Linked DNA regions of Homo sapiens: regions 2, 3 and 4 are each linked to region 1. Evidence: promoter capture Hi-C in 16 types of primary human blood cells and fetal thymus (Javierre and others, 2016). All regions are on one chromosome and are shown on one strand. Each heading gives the region's core, a stretch centred on a gene start or on the middle of the fragment in contact. The rest is flanking DNA. Distances are from core to core; before and after follow the strand shown.

Region 1 (6,534 bases), core at 2,532-5,031:
GCCACTGTTTGCTCAAGGAGAATGTAAACAGGACTTGCTGACGCCTGTGGCAAATGGGCATGCCTCCTAAGCCATTTCCAATCTGGCATGGGGTGTGGATCTAATGGGAAAGAAGCTGAACAGAGAAGGAGGGTGGGTAACTCTCTTTTGTGTTTCCAATGTATTTTCTATTTCAATACTCAAAGCAATCCTTTCTGAGGTAGGTGTTATTTTGATACCCATTCTACAAATCCAAAAACCACGTGGTAAGTAACAGGACTGAAACCCTGGTAGGTTGAGCTCCATAGCTTTCCACTACCTTAAGCTTACACTTTGTGGCAAGACCTTTTGCTTAGGCAAATATTGGTTATTCAAACAGGACCAAAGGCAAAATTCGTACACAAGTTCGAGTTCTCAAGTATCAATATTCTTCCCTTCCTCCAAACCAAGATAATAGAAGTGCTTAATTTCTGAAATGTCTCATATTTTCCATTGTTGACAAAGATCTCAACAAGAATTGGTAGTTAAACTGTATGATTCTTACCTTCCACTCAGGAAACTCCCTTGTTTGATTCTTAGGCAAGTGGGCTTTCTTGGTCTCATTATTTTGGTTGGTTAGACCACAGGCCATCAAGGCCAGTGAGCCAGTCACTGATAAGATCATACTGTTCCCTGCGATCTCTAAAACAGGTCATAATGCGGCTAGGTGGAAATGTAGATGGCCCAGGGCAGGTTGTCATTGGAGCTAATAAAGGTTATCAAAAGTCCCACTCACTGGGGTCACTTATGTCATATTCATGAATCTTCAAAATCAAGTATCTTTATTCACACAAAAATCCTCCCCCCCACACCTGACTTCTTTATGACCTGCTGTGCTGTAGACACAGAACATCTTTATAAGAATTTATCTCCATATGGGATGGAGTTGTTGCCAATCAGTTCACACTAACAATTTATAAAAAATATTCTGGGCTGGGCGCAGTGGCTCATTCTTATAATCCCAGCACTTTGGGAGGCCGAGGTGGGAAGTCGCTTGAGCCCAGGAGTTAGAGACTGGCCGGGGCAGTATATCGAAACCTCATTTCTATTTTAAAACATATATTTTTTAAAGTAAAGAAAATACATCTATATATATATTCTAACCTCTCAAAACCTTAGTCAAGCTTGATATTTGGGATTAAATTTACAGAGCTAGATGCTTGACTTTTTATGAAGTCCTTCACATTTCACAGAAATAACAGAACTTTTATTTTGCCTTCCCCAACGTAGTTCTTGTAAATATCTTATTGTTGCCTCTGCCATATGGTTTCTAAAAAAGTTGCTCAGAGCACAACCAAATATTGTTATTTCAATAACATAGAAATGACTTAGTTTTGTTGCTGCTAGTGCCCTTTTATGTTCCTCCAAGATGACTTTTCAAAAGCTATTTTTGGTTATAAGAGATTGACTACCTATTGTCTGAATTCTGCTTCCAACATATTGGAAATACCTTGAAAAAGACTTTGACATATGTTAAGTCAGAGAAGGAGACTAGAGGTTGGCAGAACACAAGATATTGAAGAACTCAAAATCTGCAAAAAGGTGAGTCGTGTACTGTCAGGTACACTAAACATAGTACGCTGCGGGGAGGCCAAGCTATAAGGAGGAGACACATTTTACAGTCTGCACTAACCGATGTTTAATAAACAAGGAACTAGAGAGCTGGAATCCTATCATCCCTCTCGCACATCTCCCACCTTCACACTCCGTTTTGTGTAGCCATGATAAAACCACTTCGCTCTGATACTTTTTTCTGGCCTTCCTAACTCCTTTCCTCTCCCACTACTCTTCTTTCCTCTTCCTATTTTGCTTCTCTGTGCATAATCTTTTCTTGTCAACCACTTTTAAGGTGAGTTCATCCTAACTGGAAAATAACTCGTCTGCCTCCCTCATTCTGAGTTCAGGTACCCAGGTAGCTCCCCTTCTTGGGGCTGGGACCTTTCTCGCTGAGCTCAGCATCCCAATCTGTGAGGATGATCTATCCGTGAGTCCTCCAATGTGCTGGCCTCCTCATGACGCCAGACTGGCTCCTCTTCCCTCCCCCCACGCCTCATCCCCAAAGAAATCTAAACTCCGTGGCGTCTGAAACTCTCTGCGCCTGGGTCCCCAAGGTCTCCGCCTGGATCCAAGACTTTTGTGACCAAAGCGGGATCGGGTAGGGGGGCGGCAGTACCTCTTTGCAGGCATGAAGCTCCGGTCCCGTTCCCTGGGTCACCTGGAAGGCGGTCCCAGCCCAGAGCAGCAGCCGCCACAGCCGGGGTATGCGCCTCTCAGTTCTTCCCCTGACTCTGGCGGAGAGATGGTGGCTGTGCCCAGGCTCAGCCATAGCGTTGTCCTGAGTGAGCGGCAGTAGCGGCTCAGGTGCTGCGGCTGCTGCTTCTGCTGGCAGAAGGCGGAAAAAAAGGGGAGGGAGGTACACAGGCGGAGGATGCAAGAGGCCAGGCTCGCTTCAGTCACCTCCCTGCGGCTACGCCAACACCGCCCATCCTTCCTCCTCCCTCTGTCCTCTCCTCCTACCCACGTCGCCTTGACAACCGCCTCCTCTCTGGCTCCGCGCGGGTGGGGCAGGGACCACGCGCGCCTCTGCAGCTCACCTGCGGGTCGCCATGGCAGCCGCCGCCGCTGGTGCGCGCGGCGTGGGCGCGGGAGAGCGCGCGCCCGGGGTGCGCAACCGGCCCAACAGGCAGGCCCGGGGCTCGTGTGAAGAACACAGTGGAAGCATCCTCCAAGCCAGCCAACAAATTTCCGTTTTCTACTGCCCTTTCGGGCCAGGGGTTATTTTATGAGCATCTCCGATGTTGCACACGTGGCGTGTGAACCGAGAGAAAGAAGATGGAGAGATCACCCTCCAGACGTCGTCGCCTGGAAGAGGCCCCAGTACGTGTTCCCTCCTACGAAGGCCACTCCTGGAGATCTTACATCCCGCCAAATCCATCCGTGCTTTTACAACCGGCTAGAAGAGAAGCCCTGACACTGTAGTTGATCCGAGTTTAAGCGAGGAGTTTGCCTTAGCCGCAATTTCCCAAGCGCCGCACGTGGGCCTCTCTCTCTCTCTCTCTCTCTCTCTCTCTCTCTCTCTCTCTCTCTCTCTCTTTCTCTCTCTCTCTCTCTCTCTCTGAGACAGGGTCTCACTCTCTCGCCCACACTGGAGTGCAGTGGCGCGATCTCGGCTAACTGCAACCTCCGCCTTCCGGGTTCAAGAGATTCTCCTGGATTAGCCTCCCGAGTAGCTGGGACTACGGGCGCGTGCCACCAAGCCCAGCTAATTTTTTTCCTACTTTTTGTAGAGACGGGGTTTCGCCATGTTGCCCAGACTGGTCTCGAACTCTTGGGCTTAAGCGATCCGCCCGCCTCCGCTTCCCAAAGTGCTGAGATTACAGGCGTGAACCACCGCGCCCGGCCCTCTTTGGTCTCTTGACATCCTCATTCTCTCATGGCTTTGAAAGCCTTTTGTTAGGTGCGAGGGAGAAGGAAATTTCTGGGTCATCTTTCAGGACTTCTTTCCTCAACTGAAGTCTTTTGCAGAAGTCCTGATGGTGAGCAGCCAGCACTTTTCCGCCGAGGCTCAGGAGTGCAATTCCAAGTCTCGGGCCCGCTCAGCGGAACGTTCCCTCTGCAGTCCCCGGAGCTTCCTCCCCAGGGGCCTCCCGTGGTCAGCCGCCAGGTGGCGCCCTCCTCTGAGGGAATTCCTCTGTCATAGATGGCTGGGCAGTTGCCTGGCAACCGAAACCAGCGCTCCAAACAATTGGGACCCGGGATCTTATGCCAGTGAGGCTGTGCTGCGGCTGAGCGGGCCTCCCATCCCTCTTAAAAGAGTTAGGCATTTAGCCATGCCTCCCACCCGGGACCCTTTCCAGCAGCCTACATTAGATAACGATGATTCCTACTTAGGAGAACTGCGGGCTTCCAAGGTACTGTGGTTTCTTGCGCAGATTCCCAGTAGGGTCGCCGGTAGTCTTCTTTCTGTCTGTGTGATGAGCAGAGATGGTAACATAAAGGACTCTGGTGAAGACACTCAGTCGGGTACCAGGGAAGTCTGTTTTCTGCCTGCCTCCCTATCTCCATATTCAAGTCGGCTAACGTTTCAGAGGCGTTTTTGAGCAGAGGAAAGTAGAGTTCTAGTCTAGAGGAACAAGGGGCTCTGGCAGCTCAAATCAATTGTGAGTATAAGTTATGGCAGTGCCCAGGTTCCTTCAAGCTACCCATTTCCCTATTTGGAAGACTGTTCTCTGAAGAGAAATGAGATATGGAGTGGGAGAGAATCCTCTGAAAGCCACCAGAGGTCATGCTTTACACATCTGTGTTCACACTGTCTCTGTCTTCTGGTTAACACCACAATATGTTTGTTATGTGTGTGTTTAGCATGATGGTGGACACTGATTTCGGAACTTAGATGATCTTTTTTCTGGTAGAAGTGATTGGGATATATGAAGTGGTGCACAATAAGATGAATTAAGTGGTGATTGTGGTCTAATAACAATATTGAGAGCCCCTTTTTATTTATTCAATACTTATTTACTATAAGCCAGACACTCTGCTAAACGCCAAGGATATATAAATAAATTAGATGTAGCTTCTGCTGTCAAGGAACTCTAGTAGTAAAGAGAGACCGACAATAGCAAAAATGCTTGCACAATAGCACATGTTGTGACAGAGTTGTGTGCAGGGTGCCGTGAGAACCAGGAACTTAAAGGAAAGCTTCACAGAGCAGATGCATTTTGATGTCCAAATATGAGTTAGGTAGGCCAGGTGAGGGAGTGGATAGAATGTGAGTTAGGAAGAAGGAAACAGGAACCAGATATGCAAGGCAAAGGAAGCAGCAGGTGCAAATACATGGAAAGGAGAGAGAGAATGGCTTATTTGGGGAACTGCAAATAGTCTAGAAGGGCTGGAGTGTAGGCGTGCAATGGAAGCACTCAGAAATCAGAGCTGGAGAGATGCCCTTGGTTGGCTGGGTGTGCTGTGTACACCATGCTAGCTAGCTATGGTTTCATCCTAGGGATGTGAGGAATCATTGTGGGATATTTTTTTTTTTTTGAGACAGGGTCTCCTTGCTCTGTCACCCCAGCTGGAGTGCACTGGTGCAATCTTGGCTTACTGCAGCCTCGAACTCCTGGGCTCAAGCAATTCTCCCACCTCAGCCTCCCAAGTAGCTGGGACTACAGGTGATGCCACCACACCCGGCTAATTCTTATTTTATTTTTTTGTAGAACCAGGATCTTCCTTTGTTGCCCAGGCTGGTCTCAAACTCCTAGCCTCAAGTGATCCTCCTGCTTTGGCCTCCCAAAGTGCTGAGATTACAGGCATGAGCCATGGGTCCCAGCCCCATAGCAGGATTTTAAGTACCACAGTGACACAATCAGATGGGTGTTTTAGGAAGCACAAGTGGCAGCAGACTGGATAGGATGAGAGTGAGACAAGAGGGATCAGCTAGGAGGCAGGTGAGGTGATCTCCAGGAGGAAGAGTAACAGATCTACAGCAGTGCCACAGGGGGTGGTGATCAGGTGCAGATGTGAGAAAGGTGCACAGGGCAGGACTGACAGGACTTGGAGACTGACTGGACATGGGCCCAAGAGAGGAGGTGAGTCTAGGATAGCTGCTGGGTTCCTAACGGTTTAATTCTGAGGTTTCACTGAAATGGGGCATCCTGGGGAAGCAGGTTTGGGGAGAAAGATGTTGAGAAACATCAACTATGTAGATGTTTTTGTAGTGACTGTGGTATATTTAAGTGAAGGTCAATAGTAGGCAACAGGATTGAGAGTTCTGGATTGAAGATGTATGACTGAGCTGTGTATCCGTATGAGCTATGGTACCCATATGGTAGTTGAAGCCATGGAAGGGAATCAGCTCATCCAGTGGATGTGAGCATAAGAAAAGTAAAAATGAGACCCTTGGAGAATAGCACTGCCTAAGGGACAGAGAGAAAGTGGAGCTGAGACAGTAGCTGAGAGATAAGGGCCAGAAATAAGAGGAAAACCCAGAGGAGCTGGGCCCACAGAGCTTGGTGAGGGCATTTGAGGGAATCAGCATTATGGTGCCAGAAACAGCTGAGTTCAAATAAGATCAGGCCTGGAAAGGATCCACCTGACCTGGCCACAGAGATCATTGATAACTAGCAAGAGCAGTTTTAGGGGGTGCTTGAGGCAGAGGCCAGACTGCAGTGAGCTAAAGAGGGTATGGGAATGGTGAGTGAGGAAGTAGAGATAGTAAATATTGACTCCTGAAAAGGTCTGGTTCTGTAGGGAAGGTGACAGGCTGGTAGCTAGACCACGACAAAGAAATGAAGTGAGGCTGGGGTCAGAAGAGAGCGTATGCAGAATGGTACAGGTCTCAGAAGACCAGGGAAGGGTGGGTCTGGGGAGAAAGGGTTATTCTTGAGTAAAAGGGACTTTCCTTTCCCTGAGATGGAAAGAAAGTGGATGTAAAGATGGCATTCATGCTTGACAGTCTGGACTTTCTCAGTGAAAGACAGACTCATCCTTCTGCTGACAGAGATGACGAGGTTTAAGTGGTCT
Region 2 (6,534 bases), core at 1,511-4,010, 320 kb after region 1:
TGAATTCCAAATCCAGCAAAAGTATCTTAGAAAAAATTGCAAAACGAAGATGCCCTCAGACAAAAAGAAAGCTGGGAGAATTCAATCTAACCCAGCTGGAAAAACTGAAGAGCAGTAAGAAATAAACAGTACCAGAATGTATAAATATGTGGGTAATAATAAAAGTCTACTGAGTGTTTATAACAAAATAACATCTTGCTTTTATTTTTTTGGGTTTTTCTTTCTGAAAAAAATAACATCTTGAGTTTATAACATACATTGAAGTAAAATACATGAAACAACTGCACAAAAGAGAAAGGGGATAAAGTTAAACTATTATAAGATTCCTGAATTATTCAGGACATGACATATTCAGGACATACTATTAAACTAGGGTAAGAATACATTTTTAAATTTCCAGTATAATAACTAAAGGAAGGACTAAAGGCAAAACACAAATGTTTATATTGGAGATGAAATGGAATTTATTTTTAAAAAAGACTTGATAAAGAAGGAAAAGAATAGAATATAAAAAATGAAGTGAAAACAAGATACTAGATATAAATTTAACTATATCAATAATTACATGAAATATATATGAACTAAACAAGCATTCTAATTAAAAGATTTTTGGGCTGGATAAAAAAACAAAATTCAACTACAAGCTCTTTTTAAGAAGCACATTTTAAATATCAAGACACAGGTAGTTGAAAGTAAAGGATGGGAAAAGATATACTATGTAAACACTAACAAAAGAAAGAAGATATAGTGGTATTAACATCAAAGTAGACCTCAAGACAAGAAATACTGCAAGTAATAAAAGGGACATTTTATGATGATAAAAGGCCAAATTCAACAGAAAGATAGCTATCTTAAATGTATAATGAACTTAACATAGCTTTATCAGTTAATATAACTTCAAAAGTTGAAAGGACTAAAGAAAAACAAACTAATTCACAGTCATGATCAGAGTTTTTAATATACCACTTCTAGTAACTGACAGAGCAGGTAAAAAAAAATCAGAAAAGAAATAGAAGATTTGAACATGATTAACCATCTTGATTTAACTGACACATACAGAATTTATATTCCTTTCAAGTACACATAGGGCACTTATGATAATATATGCTAGGTCAGAAATCAATTTTTTTTTTTTTTTTTTTGAGACAGAGTCTCACTCTGTTGCCCAGCCTCCTGAGTAGCTGGAGCCACAGGTGTGTGCCATCACACATGGCTAATTTTTGTATTTTTAGTAGAGATGGGGTTTCGCCATGTTGGCCAGGCTGGTCTTGAACTCCTAGCCACATGTGATTCGCCTGCCTTGGCCACTCAAAGTGCTGGGATTACAGGCACGAGCCACCATGCCCAGCCCCATAAATCAAGTCTTAACATATTTTAAAAGACTGATGTCATATAGTGCACATTCTCTGACCACTGTATAATTAAATTACAACTCAGTAACAGAAAGATAACTAGAAAATTCCCAAATGCTTTGAAATTTAAAAACGTATTCCCTATATAACACATGGGTCAAAGAAGAAATCATAATAAGGGTTAGAAAATGTTTTGAACTAAATGAAAATAAGTTATTCCAAAACTCCTGGGATGCAGCTAAGTTTGAAGATGTAAATAACTATAAAATATATACAATAGAACAGAAGAAAGGTTGGAAATCAATGTTCTAAAACTCCAACTCAGGAAGCTAGAAGAAAAAATTTAAACCAGGGGTGTCCGATATTTTGGCTTCCCTGGGCCACACTGGAAGAAGAACTGTCTTGGGCCACATATAAAATACACTAACAATAGCTGATGAGGTTAAAAAAAAAATCACAAAAACATCTCATAATGTTTTAAGAAAGTTTACAAATTTGTGTTGGGCCACATTCACAGCCGTCCTGGGCTGTATGTGACCCATGGGCCACAGGTTGGACAAGCTTCATTTAAAACAAAGTAAGCTGAAGGAAGGAAATAAAACTGAGTAAAAATCAGCTAATTAAAGATAAAACATGCAAGAGTGAAAATCAACAAAGACAAATGTTGGTTCTTTGAAATATTAATAACATATGCAGTGAATTTTATTTTATTTTTTTTTACATGGAGTCTCACTCTTTTCTCCAGGCTGAAGTGCAGTGGCACTATCTTGGCTCACTGCAACCTCCGTCTCCCAGGTTCAAGCAATTCTCCTGCCTCAGCTTCCCGAGTAGCTGGGATACAGGTAGGCACCATCAAGCTCGGCTAATTTTTGTATTTTTTTTAGTAGAGACAGGGTTTCACCATGTTGGCCAGACTGGTCTCAAACTCCTGACCTCAGGTGATCCGTCTGCCTTGGCCTCCCCAAGTGCTGGGATTACAGACGTGAGCCACCGTGCCCGGACTGCAGGGGATATTAATAATATATAGGGGAATAAACAAATTAACAATAGCAAGATTAGTAAATAAAATCTAACTATAGATTCTACACATATTGAAAGGATAAGAGGACATTTCAAAATTTAGATATAATAGACAAATTCCCTGAAAAATGCGATATCCCAAAACTAATGAAGAAAAAGTAAAAAACTAAATAGTTCTATATCTATTAAATAACTTATCATTAATTATAACGAAAGACCTCCCCATAAAGAAGTCTCTATGCCTGAACTGCTTCAATGGTGAATTCTTTCAAGCAGCAATAGAACAAGCAGTAACAATCTTACACAAACTCTTTCAGAGAATGGAATGACAAAGTGTGCATCACAATTCATTTCATAAGACCAAAAAAATCTTGCTGCTAAAACCTGACAAGAACATTACAAAAAAGGACTATTACAGAAAAGTATTTCTCATAAATATAGAAGCAAATATCCTACAACAAAATATTAGCAAACAAAATCCAGTGATAGAGGAAAAGGATGATGCATCATGATCAAGTGGAGTTTATTCTAGAAATGGTTACTTTTATGTTAGTAAGTCAATAAATGTAATTCATCACATTAACAGAATAAAGGGGAAAAAAAGACAATATCAAAATGCCTTTGATGAAATCCAACATCGAAATTTCCTGATTAAAAGAAAACAGAAACAGGCTGGGTGTGGTGGCTCACGCCTGTAATCTCAGCATTTCGAGAGGCTGAGGCAGGAGGATTGTCTGAGCTCAGGAGTTCGAGACCAGCCTGAGCAATATGGTGAAATTCTGTCTCTATTAAAAACACACAAAAATTAGCTGGGCATGGTGGTGCACACCTGTAATTCCAGCTGCTTGGGGGCCTGAGGTGGGAGGATCGTTTGAGCCCAAGAGGTTGAGGCTGCAGTGAGTTGAGACTGCACCACTGCACTCCAGCCTGGGTGACAGAACAAGACCCTGTCTCTTAAAAAAAAGAAAAAAGAAAAAAACAAAAAACAGAAACACATAAAAACCTGTTGGTAAACTAAGAATAGAAAGGAACATCCTTAATCTGATAAAAGAAAACTACCTAAAACTAACATAATACTTAATGATGAAATATTGAACTCATTTCCCATAAAGCTGGGAATGAGACAAGGACGCTCATTATCACCAGTTTGATTTCATGTTATACTGGAGGTATCAGCCAGAACCAGGAGGTATTAACTACTAAAAAAAAAAAATTTTAAACGTATGACAAGCTTGTCTAACCCACCTTATTTTGTTGTTGTTGTTGTTCTGTTTTGTTTTAGGCTTTTTGCAGCCTGAAGCCATGGTTTTTAGTTTCTGTCTCTAGTGATAAGTGGAAAAGAGGGATAAGGAAGGGACTTTACTAGCCGAAACAGAAACTAAGAACCCATGACTGTATTCTCTCCTTTGGACACCTCTGGAAGATTAATTTAGAAAGGAAGACACTAAATTTTCTTTATTCACAGATTATATTACTGTGTATATAAAAATCCAGCTAGGTGCACTGGTACCTGCCTGTAGTCCCAGCTACTAGGGAGGCAAGGGTGGGGGGATTGCTTGAATTCAGAGACTAGCCTGGCCAACAGAGTTCCGATCTCTTAAAAACAAAAAAGCCAATCTATAAACAAAGTACTAGAATTAAAAAATAAATTTAGCAAGGTCACCAGATCCAAGGTAAATATACAAAAATCAATCACATTTTATATACTAATAAAGTAAAATGGAATTTAAAAAATACCATTTATAACACCAAAAAATCAAATACCTAGAAATAAAGAAAAAATGTGCAATACCACTAAAATGAAAATTATAAAATGCGGCTGAGATAAACTATCTACATAAGTGGAGCTATATTCTATGTTCTTGGATCAGAAGATGCAATATTTTTGTCAGTTCTTCCCAAATTAGTGTACAGATTCATGTAATCCCAATCAAAATTTCAGTTAAATGTTTCTGTTGAAATTGTCAAGCAGAATCTAAAATGTGTATTAAAAGACAAAGGTTGTAACAGCTGAGACAATCTTGAAGAACAAAGCTGGAAGACTTATACTACCAAATTTCAAAACCATTACAAAGGTACACTAGTTAAGACAGTGTGGTCTTGTTACAAGGATAGACAAATTGACCATGGAAAAGGACATGGAGTCCACAGACCCACACATTTATGGTCACTTGATTCACAACAAATGCATTACTGCAACTCAATGGTGAAAGGATGGTCTTTACAATAAACAGTGCTTGAGTAATCAGATATGTATATCGAAATAAAATGAAGCTAGACCCTTACCTCACACCATAAATCAAAATTAATTTGAGTGAATGGCATGGTTTGGCTCTGTGTCTCCACCCAAATCTCACCTTGAATTGTAATAATCCCCACGCGTCAAGGGCAGGACCAAGTGGAGATAACTGAATAATGGGGGCAGTTTCCCCCATGCTGTTCTTGTGATAGTGAGTGAGTTCTCATGAGATCCGATGGTCTTATAAGGGGCTTCCTCCTTCACTCGGCATTCTTTCTCTCCCCTGCCACCCTGTGAAGAGGTGCCTTTCACCATGACTATAAGTTTCCTGAGGCCTCTGCAGCCATATGGAACTGTGAGTCAACTGAATCTCTTTATAAATTACCCAGTCTCAGGTATTTCTTCATAAAAGCGTGAGAATGGACTAATACAGTTTTGGTACCAGGAGTGGGGTGCTACTGTGAAGACACCTGAAAATGTGGAAGAAACTTTGGAACTGGGTAACAGGCAGAGGTTGAACAGTTTGGAGGGCTCAGAAGAAGACAGGAAAATGTGGGAAAGTTTGGAACTTCCTAGAAACTTGAGTGATTTTGGCCAAAATGCTGACAGTGATATGGATAATCAAATCCAGGCTGAGGTGGTATCAGCTGGAGATGATAAACTTCTTGGGAACTAGAGCAAAGGTGACTCTTGCTATGCTTTAGCAGAGATTAGTGGCATTTTGTCCTTGCCCTAGAGATCTGGGGAACTTTGATCTCAAGAGAGATGATTTAGGGTTATCTGGCAGAAGAAACTTCTCAGCAGTCATTTATTCAAGAGGTGACAGAGCATAAAAGTTTGAAAAATCTGCAGCCTGACGATATGATAGAAAAACCCATTTTCGGGGGAGAAATTCAAGCTGGCTGCTGAAATCTGCATAAGAAACAAGGAGCCAAATGTTAATCACCAAAACAACGGGGAAAATGTCTCCAGGGCATGTCAGAGACCTTCGTGGTAGCCCCTCCCATCACAGGTCCAGAGGCCAAGGAGGAAAAAATGGTTTCGTGGGTCAGGCTCAGAGCCTTGCCGCTTTGTGTGGTCTTGGGATTTGGTACCCTGCATCCCAGCTGTGGCTAAAAGGGGCCAAAGTAGAACTCAGGTCATTGCTTCAGATGGTGCAAGCTGGTGGCTTACACGTGGTGTTGGGCTTACAGGGTGCATAGAAGTCAAGAACTGAGGTTTGGGAACCTCTGCTTAGATTTCAGAGGATGTATAGAAATGTCTGGATGTCCAGGCCGGAGTTCGCTGCAGGGATGGAGCCCTCATGGAGAACCTCTGCTAGGGTAGTGCAGAAGGGAAATGTGGGGTTGGAACCTCCACACATAGTTGCCACTGGGGCACTGCCTAGTGAACTGTGAGAAGCGGGTCACCATCCTCCAGATCCCAGAATAGTAGATCCACCAACAGCTTGCAACATGTGCCTGGAAAAGCTGCATACACTCAACACCAGCCCATGAAAGCAGCTGGGAGAGGGGCTATATCCTGCAAAGCCACAGGGGCAGAGCTGCCTAGGGCCATGGGAACCCACCTTTTGCATCAACATGACCCAGATGTGAGACACGGAGTCAAAGGAGATCCTTTTGGAACTTTAAGATTTAATGACTGCCCTATTGGATTTTGGACCTGCATGGGGCCTGTAAGCCCCTCTGTTATGGCCAATTTCTCCCATTTGGAACAGGTGTATTTACCCAATGCCTGTACCTCCATTGTATCTAGGAAGTAACTAACTTGTTTTTGATTTTATAGGCTCATAGGCAGAAGGGACTTGCCTTATCTCAGATGAAACTCTGGACTTGGACTTTTGGGTTAATGCTGGAATGAGTTAAGACTGTAGGGGACTGTTGGAAGGGCATGATTGTGTTTTGAAATGTGAGGACATGAGAT
Region 3 (6,534 bases), core at 1,612-4,111, 310 kb before region 1:
TACTTATTTACTAAACAAATGTATCTAGAGCATATGCCAGGTGCTAGGCTGAACAAGAGAGTACTGACCCTCAAAGAACTCACATTTCCATTATTTTCCTTTTTCCCCCCTTTAACTTAAAAAATTATTTCTGTTGTGGTAAAATATCCTAACATAAAACTTACCATTTTAACCATTTTTAAGTGTACAATTCAGTGACATTAAATACATTCACACTGTTGTGCAACCATCACTACAATCCATCTCCAGAACTTCATTATCATCCCAAACTGAAATGGTGTACCCATTAAACCCATTAACTCCTCATTCCCCTTTTCCTCCAGCCCTAGATAATCACTATTCTACTTTCTGTTTCTATGAATTTGACTATTCTAGGTACCGAACATAAGTAGAATCATACAATATTTGTCTTTCTGTGTCTTGAGATTTCGCCTAGCATAAGGTCTTCAAGTCTAATCCAAGTTGTAGCATGTATCAGAATTTCATTCCTTTTTAAAGGGTGAACAATATTCCTTTGTACGTACACACATTTTAACTTCAATTACTTTTAAATAGCTAATTTCTCATTTTATTTCTTTCAAAGACACATTATGCTAGCTGCTAGATTGTTACAATGCACTCTCTTGGGAGAAAAGATTTTCCTTCCTATCCACAATTACCTGCAGCTCCCCTTCATTTATGTTATATATAGCACAAACACATTTACCCAGAGGAGATTCTACATTCAAGAACATTTCGTAAGCAATTCACTACTGTCTCTGACATTGATAGGGTCTGCAGAGCACCATGGAACCCTGGGTGCTCAGGAAATATTATGCTAAAGTACCTACGTAGTAAAATAACTCCGTTTTTTTTGGTTTTTTTTTGAGATGGAGTCTCACTCTGTTGCTCAGGCTGGAGTGCAGTGGTGAGATCTTGGCTCACCGCAACCTCTGCCTCCCAGGTTCAAGCAACTCTCTGCCTCAGCCTTCCGAGTAGCTGGGATCACAGGCACCCAACATCACGCCCAGCTAATTTTTGTATTTTTAGTAGAGACAGGGTTTCACCATCTTGGCCAGGCTGGTCTTGAACTCCTGACCTCGTGATCCACCCACCTCGGCCTCCCAAAGTACTGGGATTACAGGCGTGAGCCCCTGTGCCTGGCCATAAAAGAACTTCTAAAGAGCAGCTGTAGTGAATTTACGACCAAGACTTTTCCATAGAAAATAACTGATAAGGTGAAAAAAAAAAAAAGCTTGTCAGAAAGCTGACAAGAAAGCTAAAAATTACCATTCTTTTCTCAGAAATCTAACAGATCCCAGAGGATTGCTACTTGGAGTTCTTCCTCAGTTTTATTAGTGCTAAACATCTGATTGGCCAGGGATGACCAAACTAAACTCCTACTGAATCCATGAAGGAAGTCAGAAAATAAAGGGTGGGGAAAACTAATCTTGGTTAATACTCAAAAGGCTTATTTTTACATTTCCTGCACCTTTGAAATGCCTTGGTGACTTACAAACCTAATCTAGGACCAAGAATGAACTTTACTGGAGAGATACAGGCCTTGAGAGGTTAAGGACTTGACTAGTGGTATCACATTAACAACTGGAAATGAGATGCTGGCATTTCCCTTTCCAGCATATACTGCCTGATAAATGATTTCTTTCCCCCGACTCCAGCTTTAAGGTGTAAGTGACAAATAGAAATTGTTCATGTTTATGGTATACAACGTGACGTTTTGATATACATATATATACACACACACACTGCAAATAATTAAATGAAGCTAATCAACATAATCCATCATCTCACATACTTTCCTGTGGTGAGAACATTTAAGGTGTACCCTCTTCACAATTTCAAGTACACAATATATGATTATTAACTATAGAACTCATCCACCTTCTCTGACTGAAACTTTGTATCATTTGACCAACATTTCCCTATATTCCCCACCCCCGTGCCAAGACTTCTTACTTGCCTTTCTTGAACAAATACTTGAATTACAGTGTTATTACGAAGCTGCAAAGTTGCTCCTCAAGCAACTTATTGAAGGGAAGCAAGAAGCGTCGAAAAAGAAAGCGCTTTTTTTTTTTTTTTTTTTTTCGGATAGGGTTTGGCTGTTGCCCAGGCTGGAGTGCAATAGCACGATCTGGGCTCAAAGAAAACACTTATTTTTCACAAACAACAGAAAAAGCAGTGAATATTTTGAAGTCTGGATCCTGAACTCTAGGTTATTTAGGTCTGAAACCTGTACTAGGGGGAGGGGTGCAAGAAAGAGTTGATAAAATTACCTTAACCATGTGGAAACTTTAAGACTTTCTTACATACTAACCCCTCGCCCCCCACTTTTCTCAATAAACGAGCCAAACTGGCTGAAACGAAGGGACTCGTCCGCGGCGCCGGCTCAGACCCACTGTAGCCGACTCATTACCGCCCAAAGTCCTGGAGCCCTCGACCGGGCATGGAGAACACCGTGGAGGAACCCTAAGAGAGGGAATCCTGCGAAGAGAAGTCAGGTGGTGGCCTTGCCGGAAACGGGACCAAAGTCCTCTAGCTGGGATTACGGGAGCCGGCGAGGGACCTATTATGTCAGGGTTCAGACAACCCAGCTCTGCATGCAAGCCTTTCCAATTGCCAGTCTTGGGGCGGGCTCACATCTTCTCTACAAGGCGAACTCACTACACGCCTTGGGTGCCTATCGTCCCTAGCAACCACCCGCGATTTAAGGCGGAAGTACCTCCCTGGTCCTCCTCCTCCTCCGGACCAACCAAGCCCTCGTGAGGAAGCGCGTTGGCCCAATCACCTAGGCGGGAACTACTACCAGCCAATAGGAAGCAGGCACAGGAGGGCGGGCTAAAGAGGTCGCGGTCGCACGCGCAGTTGGTCCTTAGTACTGCGGCCGTGTGGGTGAGTTGGCTGCCGGTGAGTTGGGTGCCGGTGGAGTCGTGTTGGTCCTCAGAATCCCCGCGTAGCCGCTGCCTCCTCCTACCCTCGCCATGTTTCTTACCCGGTCTGAGTACGACAGGTCCGTGCAGCTGGGGGACGTCGGGTGGGAATTATGGGTGGGCAGGCCCGGGACCTGGCCGCGCGGCCTGGGTTCTGCCGTGTCATGGGGCTCCCCAGGAACCCGAGACTGGCCGGACCTGGGGATGTTATGCCCTCCTCAGGCGCCCGCCGTCCTTCCCCAAGCTAGACCACATCGGCGGCACTTGTCCTACCGCTGAGTCACCCCTGGGTCCTAACTCGGTGCGGAAGCGAGAAGCTCCGGCTGGTGCTTGGTAAAGAAGGCGTGAGGAGCCGGAACTCCTACCTTGAACCCGGAGAAGGCCAAGGGTCACTCTTTGCTCCGTTCATCTTTTCGTGCCTAGTATGACTGCCTTGAACAAACAAACAAAAAGTTAAACGTGCTTCCTGGAAGAAAAAGCAACTGGTTTGTAGTAGGGCATGCTGCGGTGTATAGTTTCTTCAGAAGCGCGAAGGCAGTCGTAGCTTTGGCTGGATATATTGTCTGGAGTCTGATTTTATAGGAACTGGAATTTAGAATGGTTTTCAAGAGATTTCTCATCATGCCGATTCCAATTGACCAAAATTTTTTCTGACTTTTTAAAAGTTTAAAGCAAGTTTTAAAAAACTTTTGTGGTATGAAAATGTTCACAATATTAAGTTGTACATATATATGCTGTAGACATTTTTACTTTCAGTTTCTGTTTTCGTCAGTTAAGTTTTTACATAGCTACTCTTTTTTAAAGTCAGGGAAGGCAGACATTTTCTTTGTACTGAGTGGTATGAGATGCTGCATTTCCTGTCAAGTATATGCTGATCCTGTCGAAGTTTTACCACCTGCAGTTACCACTTTTTCATCTTTTTTACTGACTCGTAGAAGATGTGTGTGAAGTTTTGACATATTTCCCCACTGTCCTATAAAGTGACTTTGTTGGTCGATATTTAACTTCCAGAACATTGAAGAGAATCATCTTCGGGTGACATAATTTTGAGTTAGGGTGTGTATGATAGAAATTGTTATGCTTATCAGAAGGCATTTATTAAATTTTGTGGCCATTTACTTAACATATGTATTGACTGCTTTGTTACTTATTTTTCTGTCTTCCCAAGACGGCCTAAAATACATCCCTTTTTATTCTCTTAGTTAATGTGCTTGAGTGCTTGCTGTGAACAAGGCACTGTTCTAGGTGCTGGTGCTACAGCAATGGACAAAATCAAGCTCCTTGCTCGCATATAGGAGACTCTTTTGAGACAGTCTCGCTCTGTGGCCCAGGCTGGAGTGCAGTGACGTGATCTTGGCTCACTGCAACCTCCCCCTCCTGGGTTTTGTTTGTTTTTGAGACGGAGTCTCGCTCTGTCGCCAGGCTGCAGTGCAGTGGCATGATCTCGGCTCACTGCAACCTCCGCCTCCTGGGTTCAAGCGATTCTCCTGCCTCAGCCTCCCGAGTAGCTGGGACTACAGGCGCGCGCCACCACTCCCAGCTAATTTTTGTATTTTTAGTAGAGACAGGGTTTCACCATGTTGGCCAGGATGGTCTCGATCTTTTGACCTCGTGATCCACCTGCCTTGGCCTCCCAAAGTGCTGGGATTACAGGAGTGAGCCACCGCGCCTGGCCTGCCGCCTGGGTTTAAGCAATTCTCTGACTCAGCGTCCTGAGTAGCTGGGATTACAGGCGGTGCCACCACGCCCGGCTAATTTTTGTGTTTTTAGTAGAGACAGGGTTTCCTCATCTTGGCCAGGCTGGTCTTGAACTCCTGACCTCGTGGTCCACCTGCCTTGGCCTCCCAAAGTGCTGGGATTACAGGCGAGAGCCACCTCGCTCGGCCTGAGACTCTTAAAGAATTGTTTACAGGTACAGTGGCTCATGCCTGTAATTCCAGCACTTTGGAAGGCCGAGGCAGGATTGCCTGAGCTCAGGAGTTGGAGACCAGCCTGGGCAACATAGTGAGACCTCATCTCTACTAAACATTAAAAAATATCAGCCGGGTGTGGTGGCGCTGACCTTGTCTCCAAAAAAAAAAAAGAATTGTTTACAGAAGTAACTATAGTGTGAGTCAGAAATATATTAATGCCATTAGAGAAATTCAAATCAATACCATGGAAGTTTTGATGAGGGATTGCATTCAATATGAGACGATCATGGAAAACTTCACAAAGGAGCTGACATTTAAACTAGGTTTCTTGAAAGAGTAGGAATTTAATAAAGACAGTGAGATCAATAGTTGTGGGTTGGAGAATATGGGATAAATGAAGGAGGGGCAATGGAAAAGCACAATACATTTTGGGAAAAGTCCAGTCTGACTGGCACATATGATACGTGTATGGGAACAGCAGGAGATAATGGGAAAAACAGGATGCTGCTAGATATTGAATGGTTTTTAATACGAGGCTAAGGAGTTTGGGTCCTATTTCTGTAGGCAACTGTGTGCTGTTAAATAATAATTGTGTTTTACAGAGATTAATTGTCTGAATTAGGGGAAAGTGAGTCAATACCTGTTAGTGTTAGGCTATTAACAATAGTTAGGTGAAAGGTAATGAGGGCATTGAGAAGGAAGAGTGATGTGTTACTGTGGAGGAGGAATTGATATGAATTGGTATGACTTAGCATATAGTTGGATATGGGAAAAGATGGGGAGGAATGAGTCAGATCATTTAGAACTTCGTATGTTGGGAACACTGGAAGATTTGAGATGTTTTAAATTAAAACTGAAATTGGAATGGCAGGAGATGAAGTCAATTTTGCAAGGTGGCTGGATTTAAAGAGATAATATTTCAAACTGGAAAACGTTAAGTGTTAAGTGCTAATAGGATATGCAAGTGGAAATGTTCAGCAAACATTTAAATTAGTTAGGAAAGAGGTGAAACTGGTAGTAGAGATTTGGAAGTAACTTGTGCTTAGCACTCTCCCAGGCTGGAGTGTAGTGGCACCATCTCGGCTCACTGCAACCTCCGCCTCCTGGGTTCAAGTGATTCTCATGCCTTAGCCTCTCAAGTAGCTGGGATTACAGGCACCTGCCACCACGCCCAGCTAATTTATGTGTTTTTAGTAGAGACGGGGTTTCACCTTGTTGGCCAGCCTGGTCTCGAACTCCTGACCTCAGGTGATCCGCCTGCCTCATCCTCCCAACGTGCTGGGATTACAGGCGTGAGCCACCACGCCAGGCCAAAAGCACTACTATATGACATGTTACCTGTTGTAAAGTCTGGACTCCATAAACCACGGATTGCAACCATCTCATTCATTTGTTCACATATTTTTTGTGTCCATTGTGTGCTCAAAGCTTTTATAGCTGAGACCATGATTGGTGCCTCTTCTCCGTAGGGATTTCCAGCACACTTGAGCAAGGAAAGGTGGAAAGTGTTAAGTGTTAAGGGGAAGTGTTTAGAGAGGAAAGCAGTCTGACATGTAAGTTATATAAATATTGAGTGAATGAACTAGGTTAGAATTAGGAACTACATGGATCTCAGTCTGTTAAGATAACAATAGTAATTCATACAAATAAGTAGAGAAATGTACCTGTGACTAACTTTTAGTAAAAAGTAATAA
Region 4 (6,534 bases), core at 2,365-4,864, 270 kb after region 1:
CTCTTCACTTCGGACATCCCACCCTCACTGCAAACTCTACCTTGTCCAACATCAATATCTTCGAGCCTGTTAGCCTTTCCAAATTCCCCAGTTTAGTCAGGTCTACCACATTCTTCTCACTTCCCAAGCTGAGAAACTCAAGCATTGTCTGTGAGATTTACAGTGTCAGTCAGGGTTCTGGCAGGGACCAGATGGTTACTCAAATGGGGCAACGGAGGAGAGTTTAACAAAGGCATTAGTTTACAACAGTGTGGGCAAGGCTAAGGGAAACCAATAAGGGATGGAAAAGCATCTCCTGGAAGGACCCGTGGGGAGCTCCCCTTTGGCCTGAAGGAACAGAGGAAAAGCAGGTCCTAGAGCCTAAAGAGAGCAGCTGTCACTGTGGGACTAGCTGACAAGCCCTGTGGCTTTTGGTGGAGGGACAGAGTCAACTCCATGACGGCACAGGTGAGGAAGAAAAGACTCCCATCTCATCCTCCAACTCCTCTCTCCTGCTGTTGCCTTCCATCGACTAAAACCAACCAAAGCCAGGGCCCAGGGGAGCCTGTGGTGCAGTCCATTAAAGGTCAGCACAGAGAAAGAGGATGAACCTGGGGAGAAATGTAAAACATCTGCCACACCTGCCGCTTTTTATCTACCCTTTAGCCAATATGTTTCCAAACTCTTGTTTATTCATTTTTAATATTAATAAGAATTGGCTGGGAGTGGTGGCTCATGCCTGTAATCCCAGTACTTTGGGAGGCCAAGGTGGGTGGACCACCTGAGGTCAGGAGTTTGAGACCAGCCTGGCCAACATGGTGAAACCGCATCTCTACTAAAAATACAAAAATTAGCCAGGCATGGTGGTGCACACCTGTAATCTCAGCTACTTGGAAGGCTGAGGCAGGAGAATTGCTTGAACCTGGGAGGTAGAAGTTACAGTGAGCTGAAATCACACCACTGCACTCCAGCCTGGGTGACAGAGCGAGTGACTGTCTTAAATTAAAAAAAAAAAAAAGAATTAATAATCTGTCAAGTATGTACTATAGTCCTGGCACAATGCATTATCTCATTTAGTTTTTATAATATGAGGCAAGGAGTATTACCTTAATTTTACAGATGTAGAAACTGAAGCTTAGAGAGTTCAAGTTTACTAAAATCATACAATGAGTAAGTGACAGAGTCTGAACTTGCACCCAGCTGTGTCTGATCCTGTAACCTCACCGAGCTATGTTTCTGTCCTGGGCAACCTCTGTCCAATTCATCCCTTCCTCTCCATTTTCATGGATACTGCCTGGTCCAGGCCCTCCAGAGCATCCTTTATGCCTGATTTAAGTTGCACTCCTTCCACTGGGCCTTGGCAAAGGTCTCTCTCTCTCTATCTATCTATATCTATATATACATATATAGATATGCACTCCAGAGCTCTGGCTTTGGTATATATATATATATATATATGGAGAGAGAGAGAGAGAGATGGAGTCTCGCTCTGTTGCCCAGGCTGGAGTGCAGTGGTGCAATCTTGGCTCACTGCAACCTCTGCCTCCTGGGCTCAAGTGATTTTCCTGCCTCAACCTCCCAGGTAGCTGGGATTACAGGCACGCACCACCATGCCCGGATAATTTTTGTATTTTTAATAGAGATGGGGTTTCACCATGTTGGTCAGGCCGGTCTTGAACTAATGACCTAAAATGATCTGCCCACTTCGGCCTCCCAAAGTGCTGGGATTATAGGCATGAGCCACTGTGCCTGGCCTTTGGCTAAGTACTCTAAGCCACAGTCTCTTTTCTCAATGGAATAACATCTCTAAGACCAGGAACTGTGCCTGATGCAATTTTTTAATCTCACACTTCTGGCCCAGGGCCAGAAATAGAAAGTGCTCAGGGAATGTTTAGTGACTGGGGATGTGGAACTGAAGCCTCCATACATCTTCAACATGCCCCTAACCCGCACAGTTTAAACATTCATCTGCTTGAGGCTGCACGTAGTGATGTCTGGAAGACCCATTCACAGCTTTGGCTAAATCTTCCTGCTGTTCCTTCCCCATCTCATCCTCCAACTCCCCACAGACTGAAACCCAGGCCATGTAACTACAGTTCCTTTTTAAGATCTATGTGCCTTCAGACATATTGCTAGAGCTCCAATTTCCTCCTTTGTAAAAGTGGGATAATAAAATATACTTTACTACATTTACAACATTGATGTGTTGATTAAATAAGATGAGGAATGGAAAAATGCTTTGTAAGCTAAAAACCATTCTGCAAATATACAGGATTATGAATGTCCCACTAAGGAAGGCCAGAGGCCTCTGAGTGGGTTCTGAGAGAGAAATCAGAAGTAATTGTACTTTTGAGCTGTGTGCTGTGAGGGTTTGTGAATGTTGAGATGACCCTTGGGTTGTCTGTAGTTTAGATGTCAGACTCTGAGACAAAACAATTTATGCTGCTGGGAGAAGGATGGCAGCTTTGTTTTGACACTACTGTAGGGTACACCTGCTTTGTGTTTTTGGGAAAACAATTACACACACAGGCTTGCATGTGAATGATTCCAGTGACTTCACCGCTGCAGGTCCTGGAGAAACTGCAGGGACACCTTGAACTGCTGGAGCAGAACTTTCTGGCCACCAAGGACAAGCATCTGACTTTGCAGCAGCAAGTCCACAAGCACGAATCAACAATCGTTGGTGACTTTGATCCAGAAAGGTCAGATTTAAACCAACTGTGTAAGGTGGAAGGGTCAAAGGTGATCTCCTTCAGGTGGGATTCTGATGTGGCTGCTGGCTTAGTGCTTGGAGAGCCACTGGTCTAGGGTCAGCAGAAACTGTGTCACCAATGAACAAAGTGTCACCTAATACCACAGACAGCATGGAGGACCTGTTGAGTGTAAGGTGCTGTGCTGGACATTGACTCAGATGGAACACCCAAAATGAACAAATGCTTCCTGGGGCAGAGGCATTGTACCAAAATTTTGCAATTTGTTGAATATCATTATAATTGGTTTGGAGACCCAGAGGAGCCTAAGAAAACCCTAGAAAGGCTCACATGATAACCACAGAGGGCCCTCTTCTCAAGTTCCTCCTCTCCTCTCCCTCTCAGCTTTTTCCTCTCTTATCTATCTCTCCCCACACCTGCCTTTATTGTCCTTGCCTGGTTCTCTCTTCTGTCCCTCTCTTTCCCCTTTTCTTTCCCATTCACTGATAATTCCAAGGCACACTGGGCAGGAGGGGGTCATTGTAAAGTTAATTGGTGTCAGGGTGAGGGACCTACAAATCCTGATAAAGGAAAAGCGTGAAAGCTTAAAGTTAAATGATTTCTGAGTTAATTCACATTAGAATCTTGAACACACACTCCAAACTGAAGTTTCTAACTGGTAGTTTTTATGGCACTGTATTCTCCTTTCTCCATTCCAGATAATTTTAAGCTGTATTCCAGGACTCAAGGAGAGGATTCTTTCCCTATAATTTCCTGGTATAAATTAAAAGAAACTATTTAGTAGGCTTAATATTTGTGAGTTTAGCCCTTTCTATTCATAGCATTTTAATATGGAATTGTTGTTGCCAAATTTTTTAATGGTTTACATTTCAGCCCTAGCGTTCTGTGGCATTTTTTTCCCCAAGGTATGGTTTTACTTTTCCAAAATTAATGGAACCTCTGTCTACCTTTATTTCAGCACTGAGTAATTAGACAGTAAGGATGAGGTTTTAATATTGATTTTTTTCCCAAAGGCTTTTTTTGGGGGGAGAGGAAGAAAGAACTCTGCATGCTTCTGCTATTTAAAATTAATAGAGTAAGGATATTTATTTTCCAAGGAATCTTCTGCTTGGGCAGTCATTTTAAAGACAGGTTTCTGTGCACATTAAGACCAAAGTTATTCAATGTCTTATTTATATCCTAGTTACAGCCACACTGTGCCTGGCATGAGTATAAATAAAAAGAGCTTCAACTGCAATTACATTCCATATATGGGAGAAGCTTTCAACACTGGGGCAAGGGAGGGACCCAGACTTTCCCAAATCTCGGCTGAAGTCACCTCAGGACAGGCAAAGACTGATCAGCTCCAGAATAGTCCCCTTGTTCTCAAATGGGCATAATGTGACAAGGAACAGAATCCCATACAACCCTTGGGTTCTTGATATGTCGAGAACCTTATAAGTGTTGAGTCCAAAGGCTAATGCAGAGGGCTTTCTGGAGGGGCAAGAATTCTGCAAATTCATTGACTAGTCCTTTGTTTACATCACCTGCTGTGCTCTTATTAAAGCCTTCTCATTATTACCTTTACAAGGTAATGTGCAAAAATATTTGCTTGGATTTCATGCATCTTGCTTGTCAGAATGTAGTCCAATAGTAATTTGCTTCTTTCACATATTAACTTCAGAAGCCAAGAATTCAAGAAATGGGGTTCTACCTTCATCAGCCACTTCTCCCTGAGAGTCTCAGCATAAAATCTTATGTTCTGCTTTAAAGAAAAGATCACAACTTCCCTCAAAAATGTCTCTTCTATCTCCAAATCCCCATGTTTTCACCTCCTCTCCCTTCCTTAGTCTGCTCTCCAACCTCTCTAGCCATGGTCCTTGAACCCATCCCTTTCTACTTCCTTGAGGCCTTGCTCCATCATTTTATTTCTTTTATTATTATTATTTTTATTATTACTATTATTATTATTTGAGATGGAGTCTTGCTCTGTTGCCCAGGCTGGAGTGCAGTGGCGCGATCTCGGCTCACTGCAACCTCCACCTCCCAGGTTCAAGCGATTCTCCTGCCTTAGCCTCCAGAATAGCTGGGATTAAAGGTGCATGCCACCATGCCTGACTAATTTTTTCATATTTTTAGTAAAGACGGGGTTTCACCGGGTTGGCCAGGCTGGTCTTGAACTCCTGACCTAAAGTGATCTGCCCACCTTGGCCTCCCAAAGTGCTGGGATTACAGGCATGAGCCACCGTACCCGGGCTCATTTCTTTTAAACTTTCAGTCTCTCCTTGTCCCCTGTTTCATTCTCTTCTGCCTGCAAGATCCCAACATAGTTTCCTATATTTTATTCAATTATCACTTTGTTTTTTTCATGCTTAGATCTTTGTCCCACCACTTATTGAATAGGGCAGCCTTTCCCCACTGGTTGAAAAAGCCCCTTATATCAGATACAAAACCTCCACATGTATACAGAACTGTTTCTATTCCATCCCATTGATCTATGTGTCTATTTCTACATTATCCACATAAACTATTATAGGTTAGTGTATATTTAGAAATGTTTCTTCTTTTTAAAATTTTCTTATAGCTATTCTTATACACTCATGTTACTAATAAACTTTATAATCAGCTCACCAAGGTTCTTAATAAAATTTCATGAGGATTTTGCTTAGGAATGTATTGAATTTATAGGTTAGATTGGGAAGAACTGAAATCTTTGTAGTAAGTATTCCCATCACGTTTTCTTCATGCAGATTTTACACATTTTTTTGTTAGGTTTATTACTAGCTATTTTATAGTGTTCTGAGTATTGTCGACAGATGTTTTCTCTAATTGATGTCATAGGAAGTATTTCCATATTGTATATTTAACTTGTACTGGGCTACCTTATGCAATTCTCTTCTTAGTGTTTTGTTGATTTTTTAGTTGATTGTCTTAATTTTTAAGTATGACAATCCATAGCATCTGAAAATATTAATAAGCTTTTTACTCCAGAATATTTGTATTGTACTTTCTTTTCTCTCCAATTCTTATCTATCTCATTTCTTTTTCTTTATTTCATTTGCTAGGTTTTCCAGAACAATATTGGATAATTAATATTAGTGAAAGACAGCATTTTTTTTTTTTTCAGACAAAGTCTCACTCTTGTCCAGGCTGGAATGCAGTGGCACAATCATAGCTCATTGCAACCTCAAACTCCTGGACTCTGGGATCCTCCCACCTCAGCCTCCTGAGTAGCAGGGACTACAGGTGCATGCCACCACTCCCAGCTAATTAAAAAAAATTTTTTTTGTAGAGACATGGTCTCCCTATGTTTTCCAGGCTAGTCTCGAACTCCTGGGTTCAAGTGATACTCCCACACTGTGGTCTCCCAAAGTGTTAGGATTACCAGCGTGAGCCATAAAAGACAGCATTCTTGTCATGTTACTAATAATAATGAGAACTCTCCTAAGTATGATTCAAATAGATAAGCTTCATCAAGAGAGTTTTCTTCTATTCCTAGCTTTCTAGAATTAGGGCTTTTGTTGTTATTTAATTCAAGAAAATGTTTAATCAAATGGGATTTAGAAATCTAGTTTTTCTCCTTTAATCTATTAATTTAGTGGAATATGTTAATAAATATACTAACGTTGAACCACAGAATGAGTTGGGCAATTTTCCCTTTTCTTTTTTTTTTTATTGAGACGGAGTCTCGCTCCTCCAGGCTGGAGTGCAGTGGCGCGATCTTGGCTCGCTGCAAGCTCCGCCTCCCGGCTTCACGCCATTCTCCTGCCTCAGCCTCCCAAGTAGCTGAGACTACAAGCATCCGCCAAGTTTTCTGTATTTTTAGTAGAGACGGGGTTTCACCATGTTAGCCAGTATGGTCTTG

What was found. Contacts are between HindIII fragments. The CHiCAGO score rates a contact against its expected background, and 5 or more counts as called.
Region 2: a contact is called between a fragment that was not itself captured here and the fragment with the promoter of CFAP276 in region 1, in 1 of 17 cell types (naive CD4 T cells). The highest score is 5.2, in naive CD4 T cells.
Region 3: the fragment with the promoter of PSMA5 here is called in contact with the fragment with the promoter of CFAP276 in region 1 in 5 of 17 cell types (M2 macrophages, endothelial precursors, M1 macrophages and 2 more); the score reaches 6.4 in M2 macrophages.
Region 4: a contact is called between a fragment that was not itself captured here and the fragment with the promoter of CFAP276 in region 1, in 1 of 17 cell types (erythroblasts). The highest score is 5.5, in erythroblasts.

Annotation. Positions count from the first base shown.
Region 1 is chr1:109,109,994-109,116,527 of GRCh38, reverse strand. It overlaps CFAP276 (cilia and flagella associated protein 276), which reads left to right and starts at 3,781. Exons shown (of 5, transcript NM_001245025.3): 1 at 3,781-3,929. The coding sequence starts at 3,849. ELAPOR1 (endosome-lysosome associated apoptosis and autophagy regulator 1) reads right to left here and starts at 2,413. Exons shown (of 22, transcript NM_020775.5): 1 at 2,192-2,413. The coding sequence starts at 2,344. RefSeq lists a silencer at 2,592-2,661. The HindIII fragment of the contact is 3,574 bases long and covers 1,145-4,718 here.
Region 2 is chr1:108,784,600-108,791,133 of GRCh38, reverse strand. All of the region lies in intron 11 of STXBP3 (syntaxin binding protein 3), which reads right to left. Among named protein-coding and RNA genes, the nearest start is that of STXBP3, 41 kb to the right of the region's middle. The HindIII fragment of the contact is 1,690 bases long and covers 1,916-3,605 here.
Region 3 is chr1:109,422,775-109,429,308 of GRCh38, reverse strand. It overlaps PSMA5 (proteasome 20S subunit alpha 5), which reads left to right and starts at 2,861. Exons shown (of 9, transcript NM_002790.4): 1 at 2,861-3,007. The coding sequence starts at 2,979. RefSeq lists enhancers at 2,301-2,360, 1,867-2,798. The HindIII fragment of the contact is 5,034 bases long and covers 1,237-6,270 here.
Region 4 is chr1:108,839,281-108,845,814 of GRCh38, reverse strand. It overlaps AKNAD1 (AKNA domain containing 1), which reads left to right. Exons shown (of 16, transcript NM_152763.5): 6 at 2,548-2,681. Among named protein-coding and RNA genes, the nearest start is that of AKNAD1, 15 kb to the left of the region's middle. The HindIII fragment of the contact is 677 bases long and covers 3,276-3,952 here.